Linked DNA regions of Homo sapiens: all the other regions are linked to region 1. The links are contacts of gene promoters, found by promoter capture Hi-C in blood cells and fetal thymus (Javierre and others, 2016). All regions are on one chromosome and are shown on one strand. Each heading gives the region's core, a stretch centred on a gene start or on the middle of the fragment in contact. The rest is flanking DNA. Distances are from core to core; before and after follow the strand shown. Region 1 holds the start of SLC66A2 (solute carrier family 66 member 2). Region 2 has its middle 34 kb from the start of KCNG2. Region 3 overlaps KCNG2 (potassium voltage-gated channel modifier subfamily G member 2).

The links. Contacts are between HindIII fragments. The CHiCAGO score rates a contact against its expected background, and 5 or more counts as called.
Region 2: a fragment that was not itself captured here is called in contact with the fragment with the promoter of SLC66A2 in region 1 in 1 of 17 cell types (neutrophils); the score reaches 5.4 in neutrophils.
Region 3: a contact is called between a fragment that was not itself captured here and the fragment with the promoter of SLC66A2 in region 1, in 2 of 17 cell types (M2 macrophages and total B cells). The highest score is 6.1, in M2 macrophages.

What each region holds. Positions count from the first base shown.
Region 1 is chr18:79,949,165-79,953,679 of GRCh38, reverse strand. It overlaps SLC66A2 (solute carrier family 66 member 2), which reads left to right and starts at 2,027. Exons shown (of 6, transcript NM_025078.5): 1 at 2,027-2,099; 2 at 2,655-2,956. The coding sequence starts at 2,754. It overlaps LOC124904336 (a long non-coding RNA gene), which reads right to left and starts at 871. Exons shown (of 2, transcript XR_007066429.1): 1 at 601-871; 2 at 1-404. RefSeq lists silencers at 1,496-1,545, 1,676-2,185, 2,506-2,585, 2,626-2,745. The HindIII fragment of the contact is 12,677 bases long and covers 1-4,515 here.
Region 2 is chr18:79,762,097-79,766,611 of GRCh38, reverse strand. No RefSeq gene overlaps it. Among named protein-coding and RNA genes, the nearest start is that of KCNG2, 34 kb to the left of the region's middle. The HindIII fragment of the contact is 4,886 bases long and covers 1-4,515 here.
Region 3 is chr18:79,810,907-79,815,421 of GRCh38, reverse strand. The region is part of intron 1 of KCNG2 (potassium voltage-gated channel modifier subfamily G member 2); the gene reads right to left. Among named protein-coding and RNA genes, the nearest start is that of KCNG2, 15 kb to the right of the region's middle. The HindIII fragment of the contact is 173 bases long and covers 1,854-2,026 here.

The DNA.
Region 1 (4,515 bases), core at 778-3,277:
TAGAAAAAAAAATTGTTTTCCCATACGAGGTAATATTTACAGGTTGCCTGGATTAGGACTTGATGGCTTTATAAGGGCCATTTTCCAGCTGTGCATGGCTTGGTCGGCTTCTCTTGTTTGCAGGAAGCTATGTGACAAGCGCAGCACCTGCAATGAGCTGTGATTGGCTGATGTAGACTGGGGGTGGGGGCTCGGACCCCCGGCAGGTGGTGTTCGAAAAGGTACAAACTCACTCTGCAGTCATCAACTCACCTTTCGGGGTGCCTCTGAGGCGTGAGGCCTGTGGGGTGACGTCCGAGCATGCCAGATTTCGTCCACTGAGCCGGGCTCCTGGAGGCCCCGTGCACAGATGCAGCTCTAGGCCCCAGGCTGCGGGCACAATTTGCCCCATGCCTCCACAGCCTCTGGATTTAAGATAACCGAGGATAGCGTCTGGGACCCCAGTGCTCCCGTGAGGGTCAAGGAGGTCCGGAGCTTACTCCAACCTCCAGGGCAGAGAGGACAGATGATCCCAAAGGCTGCTGGGCTCAGGCTAGGGCGCGGCTGAGCAGGGGCAGCTGCTTTTTCTCTCCCAGGCTTCCTGCTGTGCCTTTTACTCACCTCTACGTTCCTGGTGCTGGGGCTCCGCAGCGCTGGCTCTAAAGAAGTTCCAACGCCAGCCTGGGGGCGCAAGGCAGGAGCGCCCTGTTTCCTCGATTGTTGGGGATTTGCTCCTAGTTAGGTGGTGACTGTCCTTATGATCCCCCATAAAACCAGTCGGGCAGGGGGCAGGGGGCAGGGGGCCGGGATCGTGGAGAAGAGGCCGCGGCTGGCGGGGAAGCAACCCTCAGCGTGGACCCCTCAACCTCGCGGCTCGCCCCTTACCCGTGCACCCCTCGCCTCACACCCCCGCGCCCCTCACCCACGCGTCCCTCACCCTACACACACCCGCCCATCACTCGCGCACCCTTCACCCCTCACCCACGCTCCCCTCACCCTTCACCGGCGCGCCCCTCACCCCTCACCCCTCACCCAGGCGCCCCTCACCCTTCACTCGCGCATCACTCACCCCTCACCCCTCACCCACGCTCCCCTCACCCCTCACCCCTCACCCGCGCTCCCCTCACCCCTCACCCGCGCGCCCCTCACCCCTCACCCGCGCTCCCCTCACACTTCACCCGCGCTCCCCTCACTCTTCACCCGCGCGCCCCTCATCCACGCGCCCCTCGCCCTCAGTCCTCACCCGCGCGGGCCAAGAGGGTCCCGGGCGAGGGCAGCTCCCCGCGGGCGGGTGTGGGGCTCGGAGTTGGCTTGGCACGCGAGGCCGGCAGCAGGGCCCGGGCTTCACGCACGCCTGGCCCCCGAGTCTGTCTTGAGGCTCAGGAGCTGCCTTTTCTGCAAATAGGCGCCCAACGGTTCAGCCCGGAGAACTACACGGGGATGGGGAGAGGCCGCCCCGCGTTTCTGCAGCGACAGCGACCGTGGCCGCAACCACGATAATGACAATGGCCACGGTGACGGCCGCGCGTCCAGCCGGCCCCCCGGCGACGGCCCCGGCGCATCTGCTCGTGGGGCACTTGCATCGGAGCGGAGACCCGCGGGGGGCGCTCCGTTTCCCGAGACCCCGGCCGCCTCTGGGCGCTGCAAACTCCGAGCCGGGTCCCCGGGTCTCCTGGGTCAGGACAGAGCTGGACGAGACTCGTCCCCGGGTGGCCCGCATTCAGGACACGCGTGAGAGGGGCGTCCGGACCCCGCGCCCCCGGCCCTCCAGGACGACGCCCTCCGCTTGGATGGCCGCGCGCCGGGACAGCTGGAGACGGGTTAACGTGGGCGCCAGGCCTGAGGGACCGGCCCCGCCCGGCTGGTATTTCCCGACCGGGCGGGAGGAGCCACGCGCCCCCACCGCCCCGACAGCCCCGGCTCCCGGCCCCGCCTGCGCCCGCCCTGCCCAGCGCGCTCTAGGACACCGCGGCGCCTCCGCGCAGCTCCGGCGTGGGCGGGGCCCGGCATTGTGACGTCACGGGGCGGGGTTTCCCGGCGCCTGAGCGGACTGACGCCGAGACGCGCGCGGGTCAGCGGCGCGGGGACGCGGGGCGCTGGGCGCGGGGCTGGGGGCGCAGGTAAGGAGCGCGGGGGCGGCGCGGGGTCCTCGGGGGGCGGCCTAGGGCGGCCGAGGACGCAGGGCCGGGGCAGTTGGTCGCGGCCTTCAGTCCCCTGGCTTGGTCCTGTGGGGTCCCCGGCCCGGCACCTCCTCCCGCGAGCCGTGCGCCCCCATCCTGGGCCTGCGCCCCCTTCCCCCGAGCCGTGCGCCCCCATGCTAGGCCCTGTGACCCTCCCCCGAACAGTGCGCCCCGATCCTGGGCCCTGCGCCCCCTCCCCCACCCCATCCCGGGGCGCGCGTGGACCCCCGCCGGCTAAGCGCACCCGGGCGGTGACCCCAGGGGCTTCGCCCGTCCTCGACCCCGGCGCTGGGACCCCTCCCCAGCCCCCTCCGGGAGCGTCTCGGGACCCCCAGACACCCCCCCGTCCCAGGCAGGGGCCGCTCCTCGCGCGCCCCGGGCCCCGGTCGCCCCCGCTCTGCCTCGGGTCCTGCGGCTGGCGCGGGTCGGGTCGGGTCCGTGCGCGCCGCCCCAGCCTCCCTGGGCGGAACTCGAGCAGCTCCCCGCTCCCCGCAGGCCCCGAGGCCGCAGGAGCGCGCGGAGCGGCGATGAGCAGGCGGCCGGTGGCCCGCGGGGCGCGGAGCCCGTGACAGCCTCGGCCAGGCGGGCGCTGCGATGGAGGCCGAGGGCCTGGACTGGCTCCTGGTGCCACTGCACCAGCTGGTGTCCTGGGGCGCGGCCGCGGCCATGGTCTTCGGAGGGGTGGTGCCCTACGTCCCGCAGTATCGGGACATTCGCAGGACGCAGAACGCCGACGGCTTCTCCACCTACGTGTGCCTGGTGCTGCTGGTGGCCAACATTTTGCGGATACTCTTCTGGTAAGTTGGGGGCTTGCTTTCCTGGGCTGCACCCGGAGAAGAGGGTTTCTCCTTTGGGGTTTCTGGTTGAGGCCGGGGGAGCAGCAGGGTCCACACCTCCCTGCTGGGCCAGCGTCCCACTCTGCCGTGGATGGGGTACGTGGCTGCAGGCAAGTCACTTCTTAGGGTGAGATTATTTTTCCAGAAAAACGGTGGGGTTGGAGCACAGAATCTCAGAGAAAATCTCCAGATCCGCCTCCTTGCATGATGTTCCACATGGGTACTTAGCAGGGACCTCTCAGCTGGGCACTGGCCTAGGCCTGCCTGTGGAGAGGAGCCGTTCCTGCCCTCCTTTTTCATGTTGTATAGTTTTTCTTTGTTGTTTTGAGAGAGGGTCTTGCTCTGTGGTCCAGGCTGAAGTGCATGATGACATGACAGCTCACCGCAGTCTCCACGTTCCTGGGCTCAGGTGATCCTCCCATCTCAGCCTCCCGAGTAGCTGGGACCACAGGCGCACCACCACACCCGGCTAATTGTTTTTTTTGTATTTTTTGTAGAGACAGGGGAGTGGGGGGTTGTCTCACTTTGTTGCCCAGGCTGGTCTCGAACTCCTGGCCTCAAGCATCCCTCCCCACTGGGCCTCTGAAAGGGCTGGGATTACAAGCTGAGCCACGGCGCCTGGCCTGCCTTATTTAAATAGGAAGTCACTCTCTCTGGAGACTGTCTTGTTCCTCTCCCCAACTTCCTCTTTGTATTTGTATTAGGCTAAGGAAATTGAAATTAATTTTAACAGTTGTTGAAGGCAGACATAATTGGGAGGGTGAGTTTTCAGAGGAAATGAGGTCTCACAGCTGCATTCTAAGGCCAAAAACGTCTGAAATTTTTCTTTCTTCTGGGTGATCCCAGCCTCTCTGTCCGGGCAGATTGGAAGGTGTCTGCTGCTCTTCCTATGAAGAGGGCCTGGTGGAGGGGTGGAGAGAAGGAGTCCAGGCAGCTGGTGTCAAGAACTCTGCTTCTGACTCTGGTCACTGAGTAATCACGTACCTGCTTCTTTGCCTGTTAGTTTTGTTTTGTTTTTTTTTGAGACAGAGTCTTGCTCTGTCGCCAGGCTGGAGTGCAGTGGTACAATCTCGGCTCACTGCAGCCTCTGACTCCTGGGTTCAAGTGATTCTCCTGCCTCAGCCTCCTGAGTAGCTGGGACTACAGGTGCCTGCCACCATACCCAGGTAATTTTTGTATTTTTAGTAGAGACCAGGTTTCACCATGTTGACCAGGATGGTCTCGATCCCTTGACCTCATGATCCACCCACCTTGACCTCCCAAAGTGTTGGGATTACAGGCGTGAGCCACCGCGCCTGGCCCGCCTGTTAGTTTTTAAGTCAACCTTATTGAGGTGTGATTTGCATTCCATGAAATACACCCCTTTCGTGTCCATTTGATGAGTTCTGATGCTGAGGTGTCCCGTGTTCATGAGCCGGGGTGCTCCCTGCTCCGTGGCCTTCATCCCAGCCCTGGCCATGGGCAGCCATTGGTCCATGTGTCCCTGGGTGTTAGTTTTGCCCCTGCCAGGGATTTTTAGG
Region 2 (4,515 bases), core at 907-3,406, 190 kb after region 1:
TGTCCTGGGGTCTCAGCTCGGGCAGCACAGGGCCCTCCTGGGGCGGGTCAGGCTCCTTTTCCGGACCTGTGCCTCCCTCAAGCACGAGAGGCCCCGCTGCAGGCACCCTGCTGCTCTAGGCCTGGGAAGTGCAGGAGAGGTGGGTACAGCTTTCAGCCTAATTGAGCTCTCACCTGAAAAGAAACAGCAGCGTTGGCGCCAGGTGTCAAGGCAACGCATGCAGCAGACTCACGCCTTCGATGATCAAAATGCATCTTCCGGGAACTGCCTGGAATGAAGGGAGGTTTGAGGTGACATCTGAATGACTTTCAAGGCATTTTCTGTCCGGTCGTCGCCTTCTGTCTGTCTCAGGGTGCAGCAGAACTCATCACTGCACTTTCCCGACTCTTCCAAAGATCTCGAGGTTGCTGGAGAATTGTGCTTTTTAAAGAAAGTGCCTCTTAATTGTCCTTGACAAATACATAACCCAACCACAGGGATGTTTATCTCTGGCCAAGGCAGCTCATCTGTAAGTCATTCTGTCAGTTCGGGCTGAGCCAGTTTCTGACTTTCAGACAACTGCCTTTCCAGGCCTCCTTGGGAAAGCACTGCTTAGAGCTCAGCCTCCAGCTGCTGACAGCGTCTTCGTTATCCCCGGCAGGTGTCACGAGCTGACTGTTCACGGGGCGCTCACTGACATCTTTCCTTCCTTCTTCACTGCAAAATGTTAAAAATGAATCTTTAGAAACTAGTTCTAACAACAAAAAATAATCCTAGGGGCTCAAATGGTGCCAACGCCCAGCTCTCCTCTCTTCAGAAGCCTGGGGTGTGGGCACAGCAGCCACGTTCCCAACACCAGGGCTGAAGGCAGACGTGGCATCTGCCCTCTGCATCATCTCACTAATCATTGTTGCTTTTCCAAAGAAGCAGTCCTGGCCATCTGGGCAGCTCTGACTCAGAGAGCCCTGGGATCCACCCTACGGGGCTGGAAATGGGTTTCCTGGACCTAGGACAAAACCACACTTTCACACATGGGGCCAGGGTACGCTGCTGGTGACCCTGGTCACTCACACATGGGGTTGGGGCTATGCTGCTGGTGACCCTGGTCACTCACACATGGGGTTGGGGCTATGCTGCTGGTGACCCTGGTCACTCACACATGGGGTTGGGGCTACGCTGCTGGTGACCCTGGTCACTCACACATGGGGTTGGGGCTACGCTGCTGGTGACCCTGGTCACTCACACATGGGGTTGGGGCTACGCTGCTGGTGACCCTGGTCACTCACACATGGGGTTGGGACTACGCTGCTGGTGACCCTGGTCACTCACACATGGGGTTGGGGCTATGCTGCTGGTGACCCTGGTCACTCACACATGGGGTTGGGACTACGCTGCTGGTGACCCTGGTCACTCACACATGGGGTTGGGGCTATGCTGCTGGTGACCCTGGTCACTCACACATGGGGTTGGGGCTACGCTGCTGGTGACCCTGGTCACTCACACATGGGGTTGGGACTACGCTGCTGGTGACCCTGGTCACTCACACATGGGGTTGGGACTACGCTGCTGGTGACCCTGGTCACTCATACATGGGGTTGGGGCTATGCTGCTGGTGACCCTGGTCACTCACACATGGGGTTGGGACTACGCTGCTGGTGACCCTGGTCACTCACACATGGGGTTGGGACTACGCTGCTGGTGACCCTGGTCACTCACACATGGGGTTGGGGCTATGCTGCTGGTGACCCTGGTCACTCACACATGGGGTTGGGGCTACACTGCTGGTGACCGTGGTCACTCACACATGGGGTTGGGGCTACGCTGCTGGTGACCCTGGTCACTCACACATGGGGTTGGGACTACGCTGCTGGTGACCCTGGTCACTCACACATGGGGTTGGGGCTACGCTGCTGGTGACCCTGGTCACTCACACATGGGGTTGGGACTACGCTGCTGGTGACCCTGGTCACTCACACATGGGGTTGGGACTACGCTGCTGGTGACCCTGGTCACTCACACATGGGGTTGGGGCTACGCTGCTGGTGACCCTGGTCACTCACACATGGGGTTGGGGCTATGCTGCTGGTGACCCTGGTCACTCACACATGGGGTTGGGGCTATGCTGCTGGTGACCCTGGTCACTCACACATGGGGTTGGGGCTACGCTGCTGGTGACCCTGGTCACTCACACATGGGGTTGGGACTACGCTGCTGGTGACCCTGGTCACCCGGGGACCATCAGTGCCCCCAAGGGCTGTGTCTCAGGAAAACCAGCAGAGGCATCCCCAGGTGAAGGAGCTTCCCAGGCAGGTAGAGGCTGGCCAGGCACACGACCCATGGTGAATGCATCAAGCAGTACCTTGGAGGCTGTTTCCTAAAAACTGGTGTCTTGTGTTGACATCATATCTGATGGCTACACAGTCTCCATCAACTGCGAGCTGCCAGCCACACGGTCACCACCCACCAGGCCCTGCAGGGAACTGTCCAGGAGCCTGAAGACCAATCTCTGTGCTTTGCAGTCACTTCTAGAGAAAGGTGACAGTTAAATGTCATTCCATCAACTGTGGGAATGAGCTCGTGCAGACACTTTGGGAAGGCTGACGACACTGCCTGGGCCCCAGCTTTCTGGCTCTGCAGCTCCGAGGGTTTAGAATATTCTCTCTGAAGACATAACTTTGCCCACCTGGGAGGGGCTTGCTGTGAGGTTTCCCTTCAGGTCCTTCTGTTGTTGGAAAAGCCGTTTTTGGCTGACCAGGTGTGGGGAGTGTGAACCAGCATCACTGACTGGGAGGGAGTGTCAACCAGCATCACTGACTGGGCAGGAGTGTGAAGCAGCATCACTGACTGGGAGGGAGTGTGAACCAGCATCAATGACTGGGAGTGAGTGTGAACCAGCATCTCTGACTGGGAGTGTGAACCAGCATCACTGACTGGGAGTGTGAACCAGCATCACTGACTGGGAGGGAGTGTGAAGTAGCATCACTGACTGGGAGAGAGTGTGAACCAGCATCAATGACTGGGAGTGAGTGTGAACCAGTATCACTGACTGGGAGGGAGTGTGAAGCAGCATCACTGACTAGGAGAGAGTGTGAACCAGCATCAATGACTGGGAGTGAGTGTGAACCAGCATCACTGACTGGGAGTGTGAACCAGCATCTCTGGCAGGGAGTGTGAACCAGCATCACTGACTGGGAGTGTGAAGCAGCATCACTGACTGGGAGGGAGTGCAAACCAGCATCAATGACTGAGAAACTAATTCCACACTATCCAGGAAAACTGCACTGGGGTGCCCCCCAGTCCCAGTAACTCTACTTGTGGGTATTTAACCCCAGAGGCTCATTCACGAATGGATCAGGACATAGGTAAAGAATGCTCAGGCAGCTGCATTTGCATAAAAAGAGCCATAAGCAACACAAACGTCCGGCAAAAGGAGGACAAGCTGTGGAACAGAAACATCGCTGAGCACGGAGGGCAGTGATGGACCACGGCTGTGTGCACGGACAAAACCCTGAAGCACACGAGAAGTCAGAAAGAACAGGTTCCCTCCCTACTTACCATGGGGTCCTGTCCTGATAAACCCAAGTGTCCCAAGTTGGAAATGCATTTGAACACTTAACTAACTCTCCAAACATCATGGCTTAGCCCAGCCCAGATTAAACGTGTCAGAACCCTATGTTAGCCGACAGTTGGGCAAACTTGTCTGACACAAAGCCTATGTTATAATGAAGTGCTGAATATCTCGTGATGTACTGACTACTGAACTGAAACTGGTAAGCAGAATGGCTGTGTGCATACTTGGAGCACAGATTCTAGTGAATGTGTATCCCTTTGGAACCAGTCTAAAGTCAAAAAACTGTTGTCAAACCATGGTAAGCTGAAGACCGTATTGAGTACAAAAATGGGCAAAACCAAACATACAGTCTTAAGCATAAATATACATGTGGTAAAATTACGCAGAAAAAAAATCAGCGATTAATATGAAATTCAGGATTTGTCTAAGGGTATGGCGGGGGAGGAGAGTACCCAGACAGGAAGGGCTCCGAGAATCCTGTTTCTTACACAGGGTGCTGGGTTAACAGGTGGTTGTTTTACTTTTTTTTTTTTTTTTTTTTTTGAGACGGAGTCTTGCTCTTTTGTCCAGGCCAGACTGCAGTGGCGCTATCTCGGCTCACTGCAAGCTCCGCCTCCCGGGTTCATGCCATTCTCCTGCCTCAGCCTCCCGAGTAGCTGGGACTACAGGTGCCCACCACCGCACCTGGCTAATTTTTTGTATTTTTAGTAGAGACGGGGTTTCACCGTGTTAGCCAGGATGGTCTCGATCTCCTGACCTCGTGATCCGCCCGCCTCGGCCTCCCAAAGTGCTGGGATTACAGGTGTGAGCCACAGCGCCTGGCTGGGTTTTACTTACTCTTAAAAACTATTTTAATTCACATACCATGAGTTCACCCCTTTAATGTGTACAATTCAGTGGAATTTCAGTATATTCTCAGTTGTGTAAACATTACCACAGCCTAATTCCACAACACCTGCACCACC
Region 3 (4,515 bases), core at 691-3,190, 140 kb after region 1:
CATCCTGGGACTGGAGTGCAGTGGTGCAATCTTGGCTCACTGCAGCCCTGACCTCCCAGGCTCAAGTGATCCTCCCACCTCAGCCTCCCAAGTAACTGGACTACAGGTGTCTGCTATCACACCCAGATAATTTTTTCTATTTTTTTGTAGAGAGAGCATCTCACTATGTTGCCCAGGCTGATCTTGAACTCCTGGGTTCAAGCAATCCTACCACCTCTGCCTACCAAATTGTTAGGATTACAGGCGTGAGCCACTGTGCCTGGATATAAGCATTTTGGTGGAAACTGCGTAATACCTCACCCTGAGGATGGATCTTAATTTACTTACATTTCCCTATTGTCAGACATTATTTTGATACTAAAGTTCCATGCTAGTTCATGAATACTGCAAAGAACATCCTTTTGCATATTAAATTCATTTTCTCTGGGAAGACTTCCTGACCCTAATCTGTTTATATTTGAAATTACACTACTAAAACATAAATGTATTTTCATCGTAAAAAAAAAAAAAAGCACACAGGGTAAAAGCACATGGCCATCCTCACCCTTCCCCCTTCAAAACAAATCCGCTCCCCACAGGTAACTACTTTTAAGGTGACTTATTTACCCAGAACTTCTACTAAGCCTTTATGCATATACATATACATTTTTAGAATTAAACCTTTTGAGATTAATAATAGATTAACATGCAGTTGCAAGAAACAATACAAAGGGATCCCCTGTACCCTTTACCCAGTTTCCGCCAATGGTGGCCTCTTGCAAAACTGCAGTACAATCTCACCGCCAGGATTGATGCTGACCCACGCAGGCAGTGTCACTCCTGCCACCCCCTCCCAGCTCTGTAAAACCCTGGCAGCCCCTAATCTGCTCTCATCTCTATAAGCTTGTCCTTTCAAGAATGCCGTGCAAATGGAATGGCAGAGTCTGATTATTTTGAGACTGGCTTTCTTCACACAGCATAATTCCCTGGATATTCATCCAAGCTGCTGTGTGTACCGATAACCCATCCCTTTCTACTGAGAGTATTCCGCAGTACAGAAGTGTGATCGTCGAACTATCACCTGTGGAAGGGTCTCTGGGACAATTCCAGTTTTTGGTTGTTAGTAATAACATTATGAAAATTTGTGTCTAGGTTTTTATGTGAATATATTTTCCATTTCTCTGGGATAAATGCCCAAGATCACAATTGCTGGGTCATACGGGAGTGACATGTTTAGTTTTATCAGAAACAGCCAAACTGTTTCCTAGAGTTGCTGAGCCATTTTACATTCCCAGCAAGGCATGAAAGGTCATTTCTCTGCATCTTTGTCAGCATTCGGTGTTGTCAATATTTTCTATTGATTTCAGCCACTCTGGTAGATGTGTAGGGGCACAGTGGTTTTAATTTGCATTTCCCTAAAGGCTGACGGTGCTAGGTGTCTTTGCACCTGCTTGTCTGCCTTCCATGAGTTTTCCACAGTGAAAGGTCTGTGCACACATCTTGTACATGTCTAACTGGACATGTTTTGAATATTTGTTTACCGGTGATTTAGAGAGTTCTTTATATATTCCAAACTTTGGTCCTTTAGTGAATACGTGGTTTGCAAATATTTTCTCCCATTCTGTAGTTTTACGCTTCATGCTCTTAAAATGTCTTTTGCAGGGCAGTTTTTAATTTTGATGAGGTCCAATTTATCAAGTTTACTTTTTATGGGTTATACCTTTGTTGTCAAGTCTAAGAAGGCTTTGCCTACCCCTGTGTCCCAGTGAATTTCCCCTATCTTTTCTAGAACTCTTATGGTTTTATGTTTACATTTAAGTCTGTGATCTGCTTTTAGTTGATTTGTGTAGCAGGTGGAAGGTTTAGGATAAGCTTCTCCATCCTCCCTCCACGCTACCCCACCCATGGATGACCAACTGCACCTACAACATTTCTTGAAAAGGCTTCAGATGTGGATTTTTTGTGGATGTTCTTTATCAAATTGAGGATCTAATTCTAGTTTTCTGGGAGTTTTTATTGTGAGTAGATGTTGGATTTGTCAAAAGCTTTTCTGCATCAATTAATATGATTGTATATCTCTTCTGTTGATATGGTGGAGTACAGTGTTTGACTCAGAATGTTGAACCAGACTTGTGTGCCTGGATTAAATCTCATTTGGTGCAGCAACTTTATTCATTGCTGGATTCAATTTCCTAATATTTTGTTGAGGGTTCTGCATGTGAATTCGTGAAAGATACTGGTCTATAGCTTTCTTTTTTTATTTTTAAATTTATTTATTCATTTATTTTAAGATGGAGTCTCACCCTCTCACCCAGGCTGGATTCCAATGGCGCGATCTCGGCTCACCGCAACCTCCCCCTCCTGGGTTCAAGCGATTCTCCTGCCTCAGCCTTGTGAGTAGCTGGGATTACAGGCACCCGCCACCACACTCGGCTAATTTTGTATTTTTAGGAGAGATGAGGTTTCACCATGTTGGCCAGGCTGGTCTCAAACTCCTGACCTCGTGATCCGCCCTCCTTGGCCTCCCAAAGTGCTGGAATTACAGGCATGAGCCACTGTGCCTGGCCTATTTACTTATTTTTGAGACAGAGTCTCGCTCTATCACCCAGACTGGACTACAGTGGTGCGATCTCGGCTCAGTGCAACCTCTGCCTCCTGGGTTCAAGTGATTCTCGCGCCTCAGCCTCCTGAGTAGCTGGGAGTACAGGTGCGCACCACCACGCCTGGCTAATTTTTGTATTTTTAGTAAAGATGAGGTTTTGCCATGTTGGCCAGCTTGGTCTTGAACTCTGGGCCTCAAGTGATCTGCCTGTCTTGGCCTCCCAAAGTGATGGGATTACAGGCGTGAGCCACCAGGCCCGGCTTATAGTTTTCTAGTTTTCTTTTTTTGTAATGTCTTTGTTTAATGTGGTCGCCAGGTATGGCTGACCTCATTAAACCTCACATTGAGTGAGGAAGGGTTCCCTTCTCTTCTTTGAATGTTTGGTAGAATGAATTCTTCTTTAAGTATTTGGTAGAATTTTCCAGTAAAATCACCAGGTCTGGAGATTTTTCAGGACTTTTTAAGAATTAATTCAATTTTGTAACATATTATTAATATTACTTTGAGACCTTTTGTCTCTTCTAATCTAAGCACTGGATGTTATAAACCTCCCCCAAGAACTGTTCCGACCGTATCTCACATATGCTGCTCTGCTGTATTTTCACTTTCATTCAGTTCTATGTGTTTCGAATTTCCCTTTGAGACTTCCTCTTCGACCCATAGATAATTTTAAGGCATGTTATTTAATTTCCAAGTATCTGGAGATTTTCCTGTTGTCTTTCTGCTTCCTGAATCTGTAGATCTATGTCTTTTGCCAAATCTGGGAGGTTTTGGGGGCATTCTTTCTTCAAATACTTTTTCAGCCCCACTCTTTCTCCTCTCTTTCTGGGGCCTGATGATACAAGTATTAATACTTTTGTTATCGTCACACAACTCCCTGTGACTCTCTGCCCATGCTTTCCAGTCTTTCTTCTCTCTTCTGTTGATGTTGGGTAATTTCTGTGGGTCAGGTTCACTAATTCCATCCAGCGTGATCTCCCCTTTACTGTTCACCCCATGCAGTCAGAGTTTAAAAAACTGTTGTTATATATTTCAGTTACGTGATTTCATCTTTTTCTTTTTTATATCTTTCATTTCTTTGCTAAGATTTTCTATTCCTTCATTTGTTTCAGGAAAATACATGATTGGTGAAGCATTTTAAACCCATCGTTGATTGGTGAAGCCTACTTTAAAATAGTAGTCATATAAACCAACATCTGATTCAGCTTGATGTTGGTGTCTGTTAATTGTCTTTTTTCATTTATGTTCTGGTTTTCTTGGTTCTTGGTGAGTGACTTTTTTTTATTGTATCATGGACATTTTGGATATTTATTCTCTTGTATGTGGAATCCAGTTGTCCCAGCACCATCTGCTGAAGAGACTATTCTTTCTCCATTGCATGGTCTTGGCACTCTCATCAAAAGTCAGCTGACCACAGATGTATAGGTTTATTTCTAGAATTGCAATTGTATTCCATTGATCAATATGTCTCTCCTTATGCCAATACCACACTATTTTGCTTACTGTAGCTTTGTAGTAAGTTTTAATAAATAGTGTGAGAACTCCAACTTTGTTCTTTTTAAAGATTTTTTTCACTTACTTTGGTCCCTTGTAATTCCATATGAATTTTAGCATCAGCTTGTCCATTTCTGCAAAAAGTCAGCTAGGATTTTGATAGGAATTGTATTGAATCTATAGATCAGTTTGGGAGTATTGCCACCTTAACAATGTTAAGTCTTCCTATCCGTGAACATGGGATGTCTTTCCATTTCTTTAGGTCTGTAATTTCTTTCAGCAATGTTCTGTAGTTCTCAGCATACAAGTCTTACACCTCTTTGGTTACATTTCTTGCTAGGGGTTTTACTCTTTTTGATGCTATAGTAAATTGTCTTCCTAATTTCCTTTCCAGGTTTTTCATTGCTAGTATACAACAACACGCTGAGTTTTGAGTATTG